Linked DNA regions of Homo sapiens: all the other regions are linked to region 1. Evidence: promoter capture Hi-C in 16 types of primary human blood cells and fetal thymus (Javierre and others, 2016). All regions are on one chromosome and are shown on one strand. The core of a region is centred on a gene start or on the middle of the fragment in contact, and the rest is flanking DNA. Distances in the headings are between cores, read along the strand shown. Region 1 holds the start of CUL2 (cullin 2). Region 2 overlaps ZNF33A (zinc finger protein 33A). Region 3 overlaps ZNF25-DT (ZNF25 divergent transcript).

Evidence for each region. Contacts are between HindIII fragments. The CHiCAGO score rates a contact against its expected background, and 5 or more counts as called.
Region 2: a fragment that was not itself captured here is called in contact with the fragment with the promoter of CUL2 in region 1 in 5 of 17 cell types (total CD8 T cells, total CD4 T cells, naive CD8 T cells and 2 more); the score reaches 16.4 in total CD8 T cells.
Region 3: a fragment that was not itself captured here is called in contact with the fragment with the promoter of CUL2 in region 1 in 7 of 17 cell types (total B cells, naive CD4 T cells, naive CD8 T cells and 4 more); the score reaches 14.5 in total B cells.

The regions. Positions count from the first base shown.
Region 1 is chr10:35,088,394-35,093,471 of GRCh38, forward strand. It overlaps CUL2 (cullin 2), which reads right to left and starts at 1,948. Exons shown (of 21, transcript NM_003591.4): 1 at 1,786-1,948. RefSeq lists silencers at 1,719-1,848, 1,869-2,068, 2,122-2,310 and an enhancer at 2,229-2,368. The HindIII fragment of the contact is 6,346 bases long and covers 1-2,284 here.
Region 2 is chr10:38,014,528-38,019,605 of GRCh38, forward strand. ZNF33A (zinc finger protein 33A) reads left to right here. Exons shown (of 5, transcript NM_006954.2): 3 at 2,344-2,488; 4 at 2,764-2,859. Among named protein-coding and RNA genes, the nearest start is that of ZNF33A, 6.4 kb to the left of the region's middle. The HindIII fragment of the contact is 158 bases long and covers 2,692-2,849 here.
Region 3 is chr10:37,979,343-37,984,420 of GRCh38, forward strand. It overlaps ZNF25-DT (ZNF25 divergent transcript), which reads left to right. Exons shown (of 6, transcript XR_930830.4): 2 at 947-1,068. Among named protein-coding and RNA genes, the nearest start is that of ZNF25-DT, 5.1 kb to the left of the region's middle. The HindIII fragment of the contact is 7,521 bases long and covers 1-5,078 here.

The DNA.
Region 1 (5,078 bases), core at 698-3,197:
GCTACTCAGGAGGCTGAGGCAGGAGAATTGCTTGAACTGGGAGGTTGCAGTGAGCCCAGATCGTGCCACCGCACTTCAGCCTGGTGACAGAGCGAGACTCCGCCTCAAAAAAAAAAAAAAAAAAAAAAGAAATGTAATGTGTCTTGTTTACCCTTGTAACCTTAATGCCTGCAGCCCTGCTTGACAAATAAACCAGGTGCTTAATAAATATCTGTCAACTGCCAGACAACGCAAAAATGACTTTAAAGAAGGTCCATAACGTTTAATCTAGTGACAAACTGGTGAGGGTAAAAGACATGGATAATCTTCACATTTATAGAACACTGAAAGCCACCAGCAAGGATGGAGAATGAAGAGTATTTCAGATGCAGGAGAACATCCAAATACTCAAAAAGCAATTGAAAAGGAATTTTTCCCACGCTATGTGCATGCACATTGTAGAAATGTTCCCCCAACTCATAAACAGCAATTGAAAAAAACAAGTAATTCAAAACACTGTGGGCTGGGCGCAGTAGCTCAGGCCTGTAATCCCAGCACTTTGGGAGGCCTAAGCAGGCGAATCACCTGAGGTCAGGAGTTCAAGACCAGCCTGGCCAACATGGTGAAACCCCATCTCCACTAAAAATACAAAATTAGCCGGGCATGGTGGCGCATGCCAGTAATCCCAGCTACATGGAAGGCTAAGGCAGAAGAATTGCTTGAACCCGGGAGGCGGAGGTTGCAGTGAGCCGAGATCGCACCACTGCACTCCAGCCTGGGTGACAAGAGCAAAACTCCATCTCAAAACAAAAAAACTGTGTACTTCTCTTATCTCACGCGACTCTTTTGGAAGGATCTTCCAGATACTGTATAAGGGCAAAAGAAGCAAAGTATAGCTCATTTGTTCATGTGTCTGTCTTGAAAAGGAATGTAAGATTCTAAAGGGTAGGCAACAGTGTTTTGAATGTTTTTAAGCGATTATTATGTAGTCAGTTGTCAATCAGATCAAAGTGATTATTTCCGATACTTTACTACGAAGGTAGGCTTGGCCAGGTCTAGTTCAAAGACGTTTATGTTGAACAGTCACAATCTATAGCGAACGTTAATATTTTGCATCTTATCTTCAAAATTTAAACGCCCAGGGTACTGGCCTTCAACTGTTAATATTAATCCATGGGGCAAAGATGTGGACTTAACATTAATAACAGTCTGCAATTCACAGATGTTTTATTTGCATGCACGTAATGGTAGGGAATGGTCCAGACTCTCTAGAGGGTAAGCAAGTGCTAGAAAGCGTGTGAGGATCTTATTTCACCAGACCCTAAGGGTTGAGACAAGAAGTCTAGCATGCACGTAGGATACTCCTCCCCAAAGCTATCAATCTTTGCAGTCTGCGGAAACAAAAGTGAAAACACTCGGGGTAAGGATGCATGAGATGCCCCCCCCCACACACACACACAAACACACAGAGTTGTGTATTCGTGTGAGCACGTAAATATGTAGAAGAATACACGCACTCTCACCTTCCCTCCTTCGAAGGAAAATGGGGCCGCGGGAGAGGCGGCCAAGATCGGGTTGGGGAGGCCCGGGATCCAGTCCAGGGGGTGGCAGGGCTTACGGGTCAGCGCTCTGGGGAGCCGAGGTCACTTACAGGATACCATCTTCCCGGGCCTCCCCCTTTCATCCCTCTCCCCACACCTCGTCGCCCCCAACTCCTCTCCTCCGCCCCAGCCCCGCCACCCATTAACCGGGAAGGGAAGTTTCCCGGCGCCTGCAGCCCGGCTCCCCGACCCTCAGCGGGGTTACCTTCTGCAGAAGCAGGGCAAGGGGCAGGGGACAAGGGGAGGGGGAGGCAGCCCGAAGGAGTGAAAGACGAAGCCCCGGCGAGGAAGGTGGGCGGAGGCGGCGGCGGCGGCGGCTGTCAGCTCGCGTTCCCCTGCTCACAGCGCTGCCATTACTGTGCGCCGAGGCCGCCTCCCCGGCCGGCCGCCGCCACCGGCCCCGGAGACGCGGGGGGTGGGGAGCGAAGCCCGGGGAGCCCGCGCGCCGACACTCACCTGTCTCCGCGAGGAAAGACAGCAAAGTCCAAGGCCGCCGCCGCTCCCCGGCGGGACAGGGGCGGTAGGGAGGGGGGGAAAGGGGAGAAGGACGGGCCGATCACGGGATCCGTAAAACAATCGTCCTCCTCTGCCTCCGGCTTTGCCCAACACACACCCTCCGGTCTCCTTCTTCCGCTGCTGCCAAATCCCCCCCGCCACCCGGAAAGCAATGGTACAGGCCGCGTTACGGCAAGCGCAGGGAGCCAAGCTTCGTGTGATTGCGAAAGGCCACGGAAATTAATATTCCAAGTGATTCCTTGCTGGGCTTGCTGTCAATGAGGCAATTGCGGTTCGCTGAGCTGATGGACACAGTACCCACCCACTACCCGTTAGTTCAGGGACTGCTAATAACAATATGTTGGAATGGTGCTTTCAACAGAAGTATGTTTTCCTTGTTTCAGACCTATGTGAATATCCTAAGACACCACAATCCTCTTGCCACACACTTCCATGGGCTTTGCAAATGATCAAAAATAAATTAGCAAAACTACTTTTCCTCTCTGACAAACTCTTTTTCTTGTTAGTTTTTATCTACAGAGAATTTCTTGGACATACATGTATTTTCGATAAAGAAACTTCACATCTTTTTCACTAATACCCCACCTTCACCAAGCCCCAAGCCTATCAGTTTGAAGGGTTTTCCTCCCTTGGAGTTTTAAACGGTAAAGCTGATAAAAATATAGAATTACTCATCACCTCCTCATATATGCAGGGCCACAGAGGAACAAAAGCCCGGCCTTAGTGCTTTTTGCCTTTCATATCCTCAAGAGCTCACCATCAGGGTCTTGTTCATTTATACGATTCAGCAAGCTTTTCCCTCCCATCCCTTCCTTCCAAACTGCACGAACCCTTCAAGGCCCATTTAAAACCCTGCCTCCAGACCTGATCAGTCCCTAGAGCCTTCCTCCTCTTCTAATCTGCTTCTCTTGGTACTTGAAGTCTCTACTCTTTATTTCAGTAAAGGGTTTTTATATACGAAATTCAATCCAACAGTATGTTTCCATTATGTGACCTTTTTTTCCTCCCATGTTTTCCCCCTTTTAATCTAGTGATTCTCAAAGTGTGGTCCCCAGACCTCTGGAAATCCCTGAGACCTTTACAGAGGTCATAAGGTTAACAACTAGTTTGTTAACAATGCAATATGTCTGGTCCTTTTTTTTTTTGGATACAGAGTCTTGCTCTGTCACCCAGGCTGGAATGCAGTGGCGGCACAATCTCAGCTCACTGCAACCTGCACCTCCCGGGTTCAAGTGATTCTCCTGTCTCAGCTTCCCGAGTAGCTGGTATTACAGAAGCCCGCCACCACACCCGGCTAATTTTTTGTATTTTGTAGAGACAGGGTTTCACCATGTCACCACATTGCCCAGGCTGGTCTTGAACTCCTGAGCTCAGGCAATCCACCCACCTCAGCCTCCCAAAGTGCTAGGATTACAGGCCTGAGCCACCGTGTCAGGCCCCCCCTGCTTTTTGTTTTGTTTTGTTTTTGTTTTTGACACAGGGTCTCCCTCTGTCGCTGAGGCTGGAGTGCAGGAGTGCAGTGGCCTGATCATAGCTCACTGCGGCCTCAAACTCCTGGGCTCAAGCGAGTGTACCATCTCAGTTTCCGAAGCAGCTGTGACTACAGGCGCGTGCGCCACCACACCCAGCTAATTTTTGTATTTTTGGTAGACATGGGGTCTCACTATGTTGCCCAGGCTCCTCTGGAACTCCTGAGCTCAAGCGATCTGCCCACCTCAGCCTCCCAAAAGTTCTGGGATTACAGGAGTGAGCCACCATGCCTGGCCTCCTCTGTCTTTTTGACTGAGTTTGTTTTTGTACTGATGGTGCAAAGGAATACGGACACTATTGATGCCTTAGCAGGGATCAAGACAGTGCCACCAACCTGTCCGGGTGGTCATTGGATCGCTGTATTCTTCACTGCCATACATTCCCAGTTTTTAAGGCTATTGATTTAGGAATATCCTGGATGAAGCGGAAGCATTAATTTTATTAAATTTTGGCCCTTGAATACAAGTCTTTCTAATACTCTGTGTGAAGAAATGGGAAGTACACATGCACTTCTGCATGCCAAAGTGGGATGGCTGTCTTGAAGAAAAGCACTTGTGTGGTTGACTTACAGGCTGAACTACCTGCATTTTTCATGGTGAAACTGCCTTTGCAAAACATGATAGTAAGAGGAATCTGACCTCATTGATTTAATCTTGCTTCTGACCTCCAAGGTGTTCCTGGTCATTCCTGGGCATAGGCCAACTTAATTTGGGGAGGAAGTTAGTTTATGGTTTAACTTGAAAGCTAAGTTCCTCCCTAAAACTACCCCTGCTCTTGCTTAGGGATGAAAAACCACCTTTGGAAGACTAATGAAAAGCAGCAAGAATAGGATTATGGGAGGGGTGTGAACTTTGCTAAAGTGTAGGCATATTTCTATTAATATACTCCCTTACTGCTCAGGGGTCATGTGGCCAGAGGTCACAAGATTTGTGACTTCCCCAGTTGCTCCTATAAATAACATCAGTATTGTACAACTTTAGATTGCTTTTTGAGATATTTTTCAGACTGACCCCACCTGGACTCGTGACTCATGACTCAGAACTGGTCCTATGGCCCCACCCAGAGGCAGGCTCAGCACTCAAGGACTGTTTTCCACACCCCTATGATTCCATCCCCAACCCATCAGCAGAACCCATTCTCTAGTCCCCTGCTCACCAAATTGTCCATAAAAACCCCAACCTCCAACCCAGGGGGAGACTGATTTGAGTGATAACTCCAGTTCTCCTATGTGACTGGCCTTGGGTCAATTAAACACTTTCTCTACTGCAATACCTTGGTCTCGGTGAATTTTGTCTGTGCAGTAGCCAAGAAGAACCCATCTGGCCATTACAATGGAAGGCCATTTTTACTTGAAAGAACAATTGACAGACTTGGTGGCTCATGCCTCCCAGCACTTTGGGAGGCTGAGGTGGGCAGATCTCTTGAGTGTAGGAATTTGAGATCAGCCTGGAC
Region 2 (5,078 bases), core at 1,521-4,020, 2.9 Mb after region 1:
GTCTACTTCTGTATGAGGTAGATGTCAGATTCCTTTTTTCATGTGGTTAATGTAGAATTATTTTTGAAAACACCATCCTTTCCCCACTGTTTTACATTGTGATATTTGTCATCAATTATGTGTACATATATGTCTGTGTGTTTTTTGGGCTATGTTCTGTTGGTTGGTTGTGCCAGTACCACACTTGGTGAAACATCTTAGCGTCTAGTAGCTGGTTTAACACATTTTTTCTTCAGCAAGATCCTGGCTCTTCCTAGTTCCTTGCATTTCCATACAAATATTGTTAGTATTAATAAAATAACTTGCTGAGACTTTCTTTGGGGTTGAATTGAACCTATATATAAATTTGGGAAGAATTACTTACCTTTTTTTTTGAGACAGAGTCGCCCAGGCTGGAGTGCAGTGGTACGATCTCAGCTTATGCAACCTCCACCTCCCGGGTTCAAGTGATTCTCCTGCCTCAGCCTCCCGAGGAATTGGAATTACAGGCACCTGCCACCACACCTGGCTAATGTTTTTGTATTTTTAGTAGAGACACGGTTTTGCCATGTTGGCCAGGCTGGTCTTGAACTCCTGACCTCAAGTGAGCCACCTGCCTTGACCTCCCAAAGTACTAGGATTATAGATGTGAGCCACTGTGCCTGGCCTCCAATTCCATTCTTGATTATTTTCTTTCCCCAGTTTTCTGACAACCTTCTGATTTTCTCTTGATGGCTTTGAACACCACTATATTATAAATGTCTTTGTAGTCCTTGTTTCATTCTTGATCTTCATATTATGCTTCATTTTTTTTTGAGTTGGAGTTTTGCTCTTGTTACCCAGGCTGGAGTGTAGTGGTGCTGACCTTGGCTCACTGCAACGTCTGCCTCCCAGGTTAAAGGGATTCTCCTGTCTCAGCCTGGTGTCTCAGCGGGTGTCTCAGCTGGGATTACAGACACCCGCCAACACGCCTGGCTAATTTTTTGTATTTTTAGTAGAGATGGGGTTTCACCATTTTTGTCAGGCTGGTCTCTTAACTCCTGAGCTCAGGTGATCCACCCACCTCAGCCTCCCAAAGTGCTGAGATTACAGGTGTGAGCCACCATGCCAAGCCTATGCTTCAAATTTAATATAATTAGGATGTTTCTTACTAGAATACTGTGTCCAACCTATATAGCCCTAACTTTCCTGGTTTACATTGTGGCCCTAGTATCTGGGCAGCTGTGCATGGAGATAGCCAGAGGAAACATTTTTTTTCTTAATGAATTGGTGACCACATTTTGTTGTTCTTGCCTCCTATTATCCGTGCCCTATTTGCATCCTGGTTTCTTCTACAGTAGTTTATGTAAATGTTGTTTTGTCCTTTGTCGTTCTCAGTAGAATTGGTTCTGTAAACGAAACCTGGTCCTGTAATTTCAGTATATGCTCATATCTCATCTTTGGCTCTCCCATTTTCACAGCAGTGATCCCTAAAAGATGTGCCCTAGAGGATATCCAGAACAATCCAATTGGATGTCTTCTCCGCTGTACTCCACAGAGGTTTCAAATATAATGGTTCCAAAATCTTTCCATTTTCTACACATCCTTATTATTGTCTCTGAATTAAAGGATTAGAACCCAGAATATGTATTGCGATGAAGAAAATGTCAGGCTCTTTTTCTACATTTTTAAATCCAAATGAGAGTTAAATTAGAATTCATAATGAATGTACTGACAATTTATTTCTGTGATTTGTAAATATAAATCTGTAGTTCTCAGTAATATTCTTGAAAATGGTAAATGATCAAATACTTTGGAGACCATTGGTCTAAAATTACTCTATAACCCATTTCCTTGGCTTTTTTTCTCAAGACAGCACCAGGCCATCTCCTGTGCTGTCTGCCATTTTGTTGATGTCTGCAGTGTGTTGGAGGCCCTCACCTTTGCTTGTATCATGGCCCTATGCTTATGAAGAACGTAATAGAGTGTTTTTCATAATTCAACCAACAGCTGTACTTCCTCAGTTAAGCTCAAAACAGAGCCAACTTTGCTCCTAATGTTAGTCTACTGTGTTTGTACTTTCACCTTAGTACTTGTAACATATTACCACACATATTTTCTTACCACTCTGTGTGTTCTTTGAACACAGGAAGATTTTTATTAATCTTAGTATTTCCAGCAGTGATGATAGTTCCAGGTACTTTGTAGGAACTTGATAATTTCTTTTGCATGAATTAATATCTTAATGCATTAATGGCAGAATATTTCTGTTATGATTTCTTTTTCCCTAAAAGTATAAAACAAAACAATATTCTGTGAATAATAATCATGGTAAGGATTAGCCCATACTTCTTTTTTCATGCCACCTAATTCTGAATGTTTCAGGTAGAACAGAAGTCCCAGGAGTCAGTATCATTTAAAGATGTGACTGTGGGCTTCACCCAGGAGGAGTGGCAGCACCTGGACCCTAGTCAGAGGGCTCTGTATAGAGATGTGATGCTGGAGAACTACAGCAACCTTGTCTCAGTGGGTAAGGTCTGTTCACTGTATCATTCTAAATAGCATTTGTTTATTCTTTTGATTATGAAGCGTATGGGCAGTCTGTATAGTTTAATGATATTTAAGGTTAGGCTTCAGGAGTCAGTGTTGATTGATCACCTCTGAGTACCAGAAGATACTTGTGTTCACCTCTCCAGTGAAAATGTTCCACTGGCAACTCGAAGCAGCCCCAGAAGCTTCTTCCTGCTTCAAAGGCCTGAAGTCTAGACTGCTTGGTCCAAATCCTAAATTATTTCCTGTTAACAGGGTATTGTGTTCACAAACCAGAGGTGATCTTCAGGCTGCAACAAGGAGAAGAGCCATGGAAACAGGAGGAAGAATTCCCAAGCCAAAGCTTTCCAGGTGAGTTAATATGTACTGCACAGATTCACATCAGGGGATTTGTTGTTTCCCAGTAGTTAATTCAGGGTTTGGCAACTTTGGAAGATTTTTCAAGAACATCTCCATAGGGATCCTAACCTCTGGAAGTGATGGAGAATATTGATTCCTAAATCAAACTTCCAGATACTACTCACAAAAAATTCCTCCTTTTTGAATCGTTTTTTGAATGTTTACTATTCTTACACCTGCCAATAGTTCAGTCTTTGCCCACCTCAACTTTACTGTTGTTTTTCTTGGTTATCATTTTTCTCCAAGCACTTTCAGTGTCCTACCTTGCCTCCCTTGTTTTGTGTTTATTCTGTTGTCAGAATTTTTTATACACTCATTTTTAAACTCAGCAAATAATGTTTGCATACTTGCTGTGTGCTGAGGATATAATGATGAAAAACATTAGGCTGGGTGTGGTAGCTCACACCTGTAATCCCAGCACAGGTCGAGGCAGGCAGATCACTTGAGGTCAGGAGTTCCACAACAGCCTGGCCAACATGGTGAAACCCCGTCTGTACTAAAAATACTAAATTAGCTGGGTGTGGTGGCAGGTGCCTGTAATCCCAGCTAACTGGGAGGCTGAGGCAGGAGAATCACTTGAACCCAGGAGGCAGAGGTTGCAGTGAGCTGAGACTGTGCCACTGCACTCCAGCCTGAGCAACAGAGTGAGACTTTGTCTCAAAAATAAGTAAATAAATATAAAAAAATAAATTATGCCTCTAAGTATATTATGTATACCTATATGTATATGTATATTAAATGTTCTGTGGTTTTAAAGACTATGAAAGAAATTAAAGCAAGTTAGATTGGCTGAATGTGGTACTTTAAAGAACAGTCAGGGGAAACCTTAATGAGGTCAACATTAGAGCAGAGATTTGAATGAAATGACTGTGTGAGCCATGAGGATTCTGACCCTTTTCAGCAGGGGTAATAGCAGCTGCTAGCCTTGGGCAGGAATGTGGTTGGTGGGTTTCAGGAATAACCAAAAAGTCACAGTGGCTGAAGGGAGGGGTTGATTGGAGGAAGGGCAGGAGGTGAGGTGAGGGAGACAGCTAGAGTCCAAAGGTGAGCCCATCATAAGCCTTATTCAGTTAATTTTATTTTTAATTTAGTGGTAGATTTTCAGCAGATGAGCAACATCTGATTTATATTTCTATAAGATCTTTCTCACCTCTGTAGAGAAAATATTGGGCATGGCATAGGGCATAGAGAGCTCATTAAAGGCCTTGGTAGTTTTCCTTATGAGTGATTGTGGTAGCTTAGACAGAGCCGGAAGGCAGGAGGGAATGGGATGTAGTTTGGTTCTCTCAGTATTTGGAAAGTGGGGCAATAACAAAAGAACTAACATTTGTAACATCAGAAGGAGGGGAAAGAGGTGTTTAAAGTATTTGAAGAAGTAATGGCTGGACCTTCTCAAATTTAGCGAAAAGATATAAAACTACACATTCCCGAGTCTGAAGTAACATCAAATAAGTCCATGGCAAACTCACACTGTAATTAAATTTTTGAAAACCAAAGACAAAAATTTTCTTTTTTTTTTTAATTTGAGCTTGTGATAATTTTATTTTATTTTATTTTATTATTATTATACTTTAAGTTTTAGGGTACATGTGTACAAGGTGCAGGTTTGTTACATATGTATACATGTGCCATGTTGGTGTGCTGCACCAATTAACTCGTCATTTAGCATTAGGTATATCTCCTAATGCTATCCCTCCCCACTCCCCCCACCCCGTAACAGTCCCCAGTGTGTGATGTTCCCCTTCCTGTGTCCATGTGTTCTCATTGTTCAATTCTCACCTGTGAGTGAGAACATGCAGTGTTTGGTTTTTTGGCTTTGCGATAGTTTGCTGAGAATGATGGTTTCCAGTTTCATCCATGTCCCTACAAAGGACATGAACTCATCATTTTTTATGGCTGCATAGTATTCCATGGTATATATGTGCCATATTTTCTTAATCCAGTCTATTGTTGTTGGACATTTGGGTTGGTTCCAAGTCTTTGCTATTGTGAATAGTGCCGCTATAAACATACGTGTGCATGTGTCTTTATAGCAGCATGATTTATAATAAAATTTTCAAAGTAGCCAGAGAGAAACAACACATTCCCTACAGAGAATGACTGTGGGTTTCTCTTCTGAAACTGCGGCAGCAGGAAGGAAGTAGTATGTTTTCTCAAGTACTGAGAGGAAA
Region 3 (5,078 bases), core at 1,365-3,864, 2.9 Mb after region 1:
CCCCCACCCTTCAAGTTGTCCTGCCTTCCTGGAACAAACCAATGTATTCCTTAAATGTATTTGATTGATGTCTCATGCCCTCCTACAATGTATAAAATCAACCTGCACCCCCAACCACCTTGGGCGCATGTTCTCATGACATCCAGAGGGCTGTGTCAAGGTCCATGATCACTCACATTTGGCTCAGAATAAATCTCTTTAAATATTTTACAGAGTTGACTTTTTTCATTGACAGAACTTTTTTTGAAAATGCAAATTTAAAAAGTAATTTAAGGCTGGGCGTGGTAGCTCACCCCTGTAATCCCAGCACTTTGGGAGGCTGAGGTGGGAGGATCACGAGGTCAAGAGATCGAGAATATCCTGGCCAACATGGTGAAACCCTGTCTCTACTAAAAATACAAAAATTAGCTGGGCATGGTGGTGCATGCCTGCAGTCCCAGCTACTCGGGAGGCTGAGGCAGGAGAATCACTTGAACCTGGGAGGCAGAGGTTACAGTGGGCCAAGATCGTGCCACTGAAATCCAGCCTGGCAACACAGTGAGTCTGTGTCTCAAAAAATAAATCAATGAAATAAAAAGTAATTTAAGTTTGATGCTAGTTTCGAAAAAGCACAGAAGATCCAAATATACATGAGAATTTAGTATATGTTAAAATTTTCATTGAAAACAAAACAGTGTGGACATATATATATACCTTTTTTTCTTTTCTTTCTAATTTGGTCTTGAGGTCTCTCTCTCCTAAGGGTGGCTATAAACTATCCCTGTGGGGCTCCTGGAATTTGGTGTCATGGATATTTGGTGTGCCATATGTTAAAAGTTTCATTTCAAATTTACTGAAAGTCCACTCTTAATTTTTAGAAGTTAGTAAGTTCCAAGAGAAGTAGCAATTTGAAGTCACTGGTGAAGGGTTCACACAAGGTGAATTTTTACATTTGGTTTCTCCACAGCATAAGGAATAAAACTGTTCTTTTGAAATGAAGAAGAGAACCACCTAGGAGACTATCACCCTGACCTGAGGACTTCACTAGGGATTCAGGAAAGAAGACACAGAAAGAAAGCAATCCTCAAGGTGTTATATCTGAATAGTTTAATTTTACTTAAAAATGTTTTTATTGAAGTATAAAAAATATAAAAGTATGCAATGGCATGTGTATCACTGTATAATTGATAAGTGAATGATGAAGAGAGGTAAACACAAACATGTAAACACCAAGGAGTTCAAAGACAATATTACCAGTGCCTGAAGTCTCCTTGAATGACCCATTCTTTATTGGTCATTTCTCTCCCTCTCAAAAGTAGCCCCATCTTGATTTCTGGTTTTTTTTTTTTTTTTTTGAGATGGAGTTTCTCTCTTGTTGCCCAGACTGGAGTGCAATGGCACGATCTCAGCTCACTGCAACCTCTGCCTCCTTGGTTCAAGTGATTCTCCTGCTTCAGCCTCCTGAGTAGCTGGGATTACAGGCATGTGCCACCATGCTTGGCTAATTTTCTGCATTTTTAGTAGAGACAGGGTTTCACCATGTTGGCCAGGCTGGTCTGGAACTCCTGACCTCAGATGATCCACCCACCTCGGCCTTGGAAAATGCTGAGATTACAGGCGTGAGCCACTGCACCCAGCCCCCATCCTCACTTCTAACAATAAAGACCAGTTTTGCAATTTATTATTGCAATTTCTTTTACTCATTTATTTTGAGGTAATCTTATTTTTAATTTTTTTTTTAGATAGAGTCTCACTCTATCACCCAGGCCGGAGTGCAGTGGTGCAATCTCGGCTTACTGCAACTTCCATCTCCCAGGTTCAAGCTATTCTTGTGCATCAGCCTCCCAAGTAGCTGGGATTACAGGTGTTTGCCACCATACCCGGCTATTTTTTTCTATTTTTAGTAGAGTTGGGGTTTCACCATGTTGGCAGGCTGGTCTTGAAATCCTGACTTCAGGTGATCTGTCCACCTCCACCTCCCAAAGTGCTGGGATTACAGACGTGAGCCACTGCACCTGGCCTGAAGTAATCTTTAACTTATAAATAAATTGCAAAAGTAGGATAAAGAATTCTCCTATAGGCCAGGCATGGTTGCTCCTGCCTGTAATCCCAGCATTTTGAGAGGCTGAGGCAGATGGATCACGATGTCAGGAGTTTGAGAACATAGTGAAACCCCATCTCTACTAAAAATATAAAAATTAGCTGGGTGTAGTGGTGCACACCTGTAAGCTCAGCTACTCAGGAGGCTGAGGCAGGAGAATTGCTTGAACCTGGGAGGCGGAGGTTACAGTGAGCCAAGATCATGCCATTGTACCCCAGCCTGGGTGACAGACTGAAACTCCATCTCAGAAAAAAAAAAATTGAATTATCATATATCCTTCACCAAGATAATTCCATCATTAATATTTTGGCACATTTGCTTCATAATTTTTGCTATTTGTGTATATTATGTATTTATTTTTCTTAATCATTTGAGAGTCAGTTGTAGGAATCATTCCACTTTACTCCTAAGTTCTTAGCTGTATATTTTCTATCAGCAAGGATAAAATTCTCAGATAACCATGGTACAGTGCTCAAAATCAGAAAAATTTAACAAAGATATAATATCTAATCTATAATGTACAGTCCATGTTCAAATTTCACTGATTGTCTCAATTAAGTCTTTTTTTTTTTTTTCTTGAGATGGAGTCTTACTCTGTCACCCAGGCTGCAGTGCTGTGGCACAATCTCGGCTCACTACAATCTCCCCTTCTCAGGTTCAAGTGATTGTCCTGCATCAGCCTCCTGAGTAGCTGGGACTACAGGCATGCACCACCATGCCCGGGTAAATTTTGTATTTTTTTTTTTAAGTAGAGATGGATTTTCACCATGTTATCCAGGATGATCTCGATCTCTTTACCTCGTGATCTCCCCATCTCATCCTCCTAAAGTGCTGAGATTACAGGCATGAGCCACTACGCCCAGCCTTCAATTAAGACTTTTATAGATAATTGTTTTTCTGATTCAAGATCCAATTCAAAAACTGTTTCTGGGCTGGGTGTGATGACTCATGCCTGTAATCCCAGTACTTTGGGAGGCCGAGGCGGGTGGATCACTTGAGGTCAGGAGTTTGAGACCAGCCTGGCCAACATAGTGAAACCCCATCTCTACAATAGATACAAAAACTATCTGGGCATATCAGGGGAACCTGCCCCCAATATTTCAACATAGGTTCTTTCTATTTTCCATAAGTGTCAGCCGGCTGAGAAAAATAAAGAGAAAGAGTACAAAGAGAGGAATTTTACAGCTGGGCCTCTGGGGGTGACATCACATCGGTAGGACCGTGATGCCCACCTGAGCCTTAAAGCCAGCAAGTTTTATTAAGGATTTCAAAAGGGGAGGGGGTGCAAGAACAGGGAGTAGGTCACAAAGATCACATGCTTCTAAGGGAAAAATCAGAAACTCCTAATAAGGGTCTAACAAAGATCACAAGACAAAGGGCAAAGGCAAAGATCACAAAGCAAAGGGCAAAAACAAGATCACAAGGCAAAGGGCAAAAGCAGAATTACTGATAAGGGTCTATGTTCAGTGGTGCACGTATTGTCTTTATAAACATCTTAAACAACAGAAAACAGGGTTTGAGAGCAGAGAACCAGGCTGACCTCAAATTTAGTGGGGCAGGGTTTTTCCCCACCCTAGTAAGCCTGAGGGTACTGCAGGAGACCAGGGCATATTTCAGTCCTTATCTCAACCATGTAAGACAGACACTCCCCTCGGGAGGCTGAGGCAGGAGAATGGCGTGAACCCGGGAAGCGGAGCTTGCAGTGAGCCGAGATTGCGCCACTGCAGTCCGCAGTCCGACCTGGGCGACAGAGTGAGACTCCGTCTCAAAAAAAAAAAAAAAAAAAAAAAAAAAGACAGACACTCCCAAAGAAGCCGTTTATAGACCTCCCCACAGGAATGCATTCCTTTCCCAGAGTATTAATCCTTGCTAGGAAAAGAATTTAGCGATATCTTCCCTACTTGCACCTCCATTTATAGGCTCTCTGCAAGAAGAAAAATATGGCTCTATTTTGCCCAACCCCGCAGGCAGTCAGACCTTATAGTTGTCTTCCCTTGTTCCCTGAAAATCGCTGTTATTCTATTCTTTTTCAAGGTGCAATGATTTCATATTGTTCAAACACACATGTTTTACATTCAATTTGTACAGTTAACACAATAGTGGTCCTGAGGTGACATACATCCTCAGTTTACGAAGATAATAGGATTAAGAGATTAAAGTAAGACAGGAGAAAGAAATTATGAAAGTATTATTTGGGAACTGGTAAATGTCTATGAAATCTTCACAATTTATGTTCCTCTGCCACGGCTCCAGCCGGTCCCTCTGTTCAGGGTCCCTGACTTCCCACAACACAGGTGTGGTGGCCCGTGTCTCCTGAGTTGGAAGAATCACTTGAACCCAGGAGGCAGAGGTTGCAATGAGCCGAGATCACGCCACTTCACGCCAGTCTGGGCAATAGAGGGAGACTCTGTCTAAACAAACAAACAAACCAAAACAAAAACCGTTTCTGGCCAAGGTGGAGTAACAAGGACTGGATTTACCCTCCTGCCTAAAACAACTGAAGAAACCAGATAAAATATATGAAACAATGTTTTCAAGTCACTGGATATCAGGCAATGAGCACAGTGACCCATGAAACATGAAATAAGTAAGCTCTACATTTGCCACAGCTTACTGCCTTAAAAGAGTTTCCAGGCTGTGGCACAAGGAGGGGGATCCCAGGCTGAGCGTCATAGACTCCTTGAATTGAGGAGACGCAGCTGAGAGTCCAGAGACACCAAGGCAGCTAGAGTTTGTAGGACAAATTACCAAGGAAGAGAGCTGCACAGAGAGAGACAGCTCTGGTGATCTTCAGAAGGTCCCCTTGAAAACTCAGCAGAGTGCTGTCTGGAACATGCGTATGAGGATATCACCTGAGACTGGGGAATCATCCAAAAAGATTGAAGAGAATAGAGCCCAGTGATGCTGGAAAAAGTACCTGCTGTCACCAGCCAGGATGAGAAAATCATAATTCATGAGCACTGGGGTAGAGTACTCAGAATGATCTTGTCTCAGCAAC